Linked DNA regions of Homo sapiens: region 2 is linked to region 1. Evidence: promoter capture Hi-C in human tissues and cell types (Jung and others, 2019). All regions are on one chromosome and are shown on one strand. Each heading gives the region's core, a stretch centred on a gene start or on the middle of the fragment in contact. The rest is flanking DNA. Distances are from core to core; before and after follow the strand shown.

Region 1 (2,700 bases), core at 196-2,695:
ATCAAGAGCAACTCCTAGCCTCCTCCATCTCCTGTCATTTTCAGCAGAGACTTCCTCCACACTGCCCTCTGCATGTGAAAAGTCTCCCAGCCTTCTACTCTTCATTCATCAAGGTACACTCTCCTTCCATTCACAATTTATTTCAAGTTATCCCTCCCTTCCAAAGCCCCTTTTCTGGAGGTATATTCCCCAACTGCCCTAATACATTCCATCATCGCACTCACCATGTTGCCATCTCACCCCCTCCCCAACCCTCAGAAATTGTTTAGGGGGAGGGGGATGAGGGGTCGAGGAAACCCGTGTTTGCATACAGACCTAGACCGGGACAAATAGCCTAGCATTAAGCTTAGTCTCATCTTTGGAGAAAACAAAACAAAACAAAACAACAACAAACAGTTGACATGAATAATTCCTGAGCCTGGCAACAAGCAGACTGAAAAAAAAAAATATTTGGCTGAATGGATGTAAGAATGAATGGATGGATGGATGATTGAGATCTCTGTGGTACTTTTCTCCGATGCCCCTCCTTCTTGCTCCAGGCATGGATCCTGTTTAATTCAGCTTCTATGAGTGAGTGCACTTCCCTGCTTTGCCTCCGTCTCCACTCCCTGCTGGTTCATTACCACCTCTTGACTGGAGACTAAACCTCCTCGCCAAAGGGCAATGCCACCTAGCTCACAAATGCTTTGTGACTTCCACAGCCACAGAGAGCTTGCTCCTTAGGGATGTAGCTTTGTATTCTGCAAGCTCTGTCTCGTCCCAACCCCCCTGAAACACCCAGCCACGTTACACAAAGGGATGACTGACTCCCCCACCTACCCACCCACACACACACACACTCAACAAAATCCACCTGGAGATCCCTGCCGCGGCCCCTCTCCCTGCGCTTGTAATCTAGGTGCTCGAAAAAGAAACGCGGTTTCCCCGTTATTCCTGCAAAACAGGGAATAACCTTTCCAGGGCTCGGTCCCGGTTCGGAAAATCAGAAAACTTTCTATTATTATTATTATTTTATTAGAAAACCCCATCCGAGAGCAGCGACCTCTTTGTTTGCTTCCCGGGGGAGGGAGGGGTCTCTTTAGAGCCTTCTCAGCCCGGGGCGGAGAGGGGGTGATAGCCCCTAGGAGGGCTGCCCGGGAGGAGACTCACCCAGGACGTTCCCAATGAGAGCCACGACGAACACGATGATGTACCCGGCGATCAGGACCCACTCATATTCTTTCGGGTGCAGGTATTCCCTCCACAGGTACCGCAGGAATTCCTCGTCGTCATAGTCGGTGGGGTTTAAAAAGGGCTCTTGAGTTTCATTCAGCTCCGAAGCAGATGACCAGTTGCGACAAGGGGGGGAGTCCTCCAATTTGGTGCCGGACATCACGGGCTCAAGTCCGGTTCCGCTCAATGCTGCAAGCTCCTCTCCGCCTGCCCCATGAGCACTGGTGATTTGCGGTGGGAAAGGCTGCGCGGAGAGGCTAGAAGGGGCTCCCGAGCAGAAAATGACGTGAAAAGTTACTGAGCCAATGCCTCCGGAGTCTTCTGCCGGGCAACTTCTGCGGTGGCTTTGCTGTCTTTACAGGCGATGTTGCACCGGGAAGATAGGCAGCTGAGGAACTAGGGACCCGGCACTGGAGGCTGCAGCAATGACACCAGGAGGAGAAAGCTACGTCCGGCTCAGCTGAAGCTCAATTACTCCTCATTCCAGCACTCAGTCCGCAGCCCACAGCCTCCTCCCTCGCTGAGGGAGAGCTGAAGCTGAAGAAAAAAAAAAAAGTAATGAAAACTAATTTAATCTGTTTTTTTGGGGGGTGGGGGGTGAGAGTTAAATCTCTCTCTTTTTCTACTTATTTTCTCTATTTTTACGTGCACTTATTATAAACCATGCACAGACATGCATCAGTCTGTGGATATGACAAAAATGTCAACATACAATTAATACAGAGCATGTTGATACATTTGTCTTTGTAAAGCAAATATAAAAGCAATAAGGAGGTGCCTCTGTGTTTCTCAAGCAGGACAATGGAAAAGTCATTCCAGGCAAACACTTTAACATTTAATATAAACTTATTTTAACATTTGACATTTGCCAACTTAGTACTTGCCGAGTCTTTAAGACATCTCCGTCTTCACTTTCTCCTTAAAATTTGAGAATGAGACTGTTTTTAAACTGAAGGGTCTATTTAGCTGGAATTTGTATTTGCGATAGTTAAGTGTCATGTGAAATAGAGCTACAAATTCTTGAAGGACGCCAAGTGTCATAAATATGATCATAGTTAATGTTGTCAAGCATGACAGACCACCAATATACTCAATGATATTAAACATTCACTGTAGGATGTAGCAATCTAAGCAGAAGTGCTCTCTCTGGTAAATACCACATCCCATTGGGTCTTTCTTCCCATTGATTCAGGGCTGATGTCACCTGCCATTCTCTCATGCACTGGTTTTGTCTCTAATAATAAGTATTCTAGCATTTGTCAGAATGTGAATTCATGATCCTTTTATTCTTAATAAACATGGTAAAAATATTGCATTTAAGTAATTACAATCTTGCACTTGGGAAGAGCCTGGAAATCTTGTCTGAACTTCAGCTTCAGAGTAGAAGCCTCCTGATAACATTGCTGACATGTCCCCATCTAGCTTGAATGTGACCACCACAATTCACTACTTCCATCCTTATGGGAGTGCTCTAAGGGTGAGAAAACT
Region 2 (2,700 bases), core at 6-2,505, 1.1 Mb after region 1:
TGTGAAAACTGCATTTTTTTGGTGAGTCAGTTCCTCATGGGGTCCTTCAGACCAGCTGAGTCAGTGGGGTCTTTTAAATCAGCTGGTATCAGTGGGGGGTCACTGGAATCAGCTGGCGTTAGTAGTTTCATCAGTATGCAAGACCTTTTCGCCACTAAAGCCTATTGCTCTGGTAAACATCAGGATGATCCGTTTCTCTGAAATGATCAAAGGGAAAACTTAATGTTTTATAATGTTCAAGCTGTTATCTGTGGAACAGTTAAGGGGAACTGTAATTCTGTAATAGGGTCTACATGATTGTGAGGCAATAGGCACCAAAGAACTACGAAGAAGCAGGTCAGAGAGCAAGCTGACTTCATGGCTAATGTTTCATGTGCAGTAGGCTTGGTTTATTTTCATTTCTCTCTCTTTTTTCCTGATAGATTTTATGAATTTTATAGGAGCAGTTCCAAAATTACAAGACATAGCTCATGAAGTAAGATTTTTTAAAAACAAACATATTCATATGAATATTACCGCCAAAGATGTTACCAGGGACAATCTATATGTTTACTTAATGTTTCTGCTATCCCTCAAAATATTTTTGAAACTTCTTTGAATTAACTTTAAAAGTCATTTATATTTTTAAGAAAATTGGTTCCATTGCCTTAAATTTATACCTTTAAAAAAAATCCTAAACAGGTTAACTCATTATTACTTTTAGCTCTTTCTAAAACTAAAATCCACTATTGAAAAACAATGATTTATCATATGTCTCAAGAGACTTAAAAGATTAGGACTCCAGCTATAAAAAAATAGAGAAATAATTATTCTTTAGGAAGTTTTTGAAATTAGCAATACTATGCAATATGAATATAGCCTATGAAGATAACTTTGTTTTTTTTTCTTTTTGAAGATAACTTTGATAGAAACAGCATTCATGCATATTAAAGTTTGTCATGTTCATTAAAATATATACCATTGTTACAGCAAAGCAGATGCATGCAAAGCAGATGCATCCTCATAATAGAAGACCATACAGTAGTTGATATTTTATTATTATAAATTTATTATTTTTATGTAAACCATTTCTCTCCTCCTGAAGATCTTTTTAAAAATGCAAATACCTATGAGAGAATCAATACATTAAGTCACCTACATTATATAGACGTGGGTCTTAACTCTATCTAAAGTATTCATCTTAGTTCTGTCTAAGGGGTCTATGAATAGCATTCAATGGGTCCATGATGGGAAATATATTATGTTTTGTTTTTATTAATCTCTAACTGGAATTTAACATTTCCTTCAATTATGAATATAATCAATCAACCAGTGTAGAATTAGGCACTATCTGTGACATTGATACCTATAAAAATCATAGATATTTTACATTACAAGTGTTGCATATATAGCAAAATATCACTTGTTCTCATTACTACTTTGAAATTATAATAGTTCTTAGAACTATTTCTGAATCTTGTACTATGCACATAAAAAAACAATATGCTAAAAAGAAGACCATAGGCCCCTCAAACTGCAAAAAGAGTGCATGACTCAAAAAAGATAAAGAATCCTTGCCTTATATAATGAGTTAACTTATAATGTTTATTTTCTCTTTGACCTGGGCAACCAAAAAAAATCCCAGGATACCAATTTACCTGTGAAAAAGTTTCCACAAGGTTGGAAGGCAAATTTTGCATGTAATAAATTTGACATGCCTTGCCTTTTCCAGAAACAAAAGCAGAGACGTGGTTCTAGAGGCACATTACATTAGCTATCAGCTTGGAAATCATTGACTGCATATACTAGCATGTTTTTGTGGCTAAAATGTAAGCAGAGAATCCATGCTTAAAGCACTGGATTCTTACCAATCCATTATCTGGGACATTAAACATGGGGGGGAGGTGGGGAAATAAAAATACAAAAAAATCTAACATCATATCAAACTGTGCTAGATCATCCCGATTCTAAGGCTCTTTGAAAATTGAAGGAGAATAACAAAAATGATGAGTGAGGCAGACAGGCTTACGGGGTAAGCTGGACAGCTGTCACAGTGAACAGTAAAGCAGTCGTGCATGGGTATCAGCAATGGCCCACATTTAACACTTAACACAACAGAGAGCAAACAATTATTTGTTGTGCTTTACCCCTAAAAGTAACAGAGAAGGGGAAAAATGGAAGAAAGTGAGAAACTATACAGCAGACACACTGTGACAAAAATTTTAAAACCCTTAGCAAAAAAGATTGTTAAGTGAGCCAAAAGGAATCACTTTTGAACTTAACCACTCCATATTTTTCCAGGTTGTTTTCACTGTAACTTTACAAAGAATTAGGTTGACAAAACTTTATAGTATCAAAGAGAAATAGGAAATAGTTTAAGCTTGTCTTGTGGTTCAGTCTATTATGCTCAAATTAAAAATACAGTTGATTTGAGTCTTTTTTAAAGAAAAAATTTTTTCTTAAATTTTTGTGTGAAGTTGGCCCTCCATATAGACGAGTTCTGCATCCCTGGATTCAACAAACTACAGATCAAAAATATTCAGAAAAAAAAAATTGTCTATATTGCCTTTTTTTATTGCTATTATTTCCTAAACAATACAGTATAACAACTCTTTATATAACACTTACATTGTATTAGGTATTATAAGTAATCTAGAGATGATTTAATGTACCTGGGAGGATGTGCATAGGTTATATGCAAATACTACACCATTTTATATC

Evidence for each region. The method cuts DNA at HindIII sites, captures the fragments that hold promoters and counts their contacts. A contact is called where the count stands out against the background at its distance.
Region 2: a fragment that was not itself captured here is called in contact with the fragment with the promoter of HCRTR2 in region 1 in 2 of the 25 tissues and cell types used here (IMR-90 fibroblasts and lymphoblastoid cells).

Annotation. Positions count from the first base shown.
Region 1 is chr6:55,173,260-55,175,959 of GRCh38, reverse strand. HCRTR2 (hypocretin receptor 2) reads right to left here and starts at 1,445. Exons shown (of 7, transcript NM_001384272.1): 1 at 1,150-1,445. The coding sequence starts at 1,372. The HindIII fragment of the contact is 12,053 bases long and covers 1-2,700 here.
Region 2 is chr6:54,069,515-54,072,214 of GRCh38, reverse strand. It overlaps a transcript of MLIP not described here. Among named protein-coding and RNA genes, the nearest start is that of MLIP-AS1, 23 kb to the right of the region's middle. The HindIII fragment of the contact is 4,337 bases long and covers 1-2,700 here.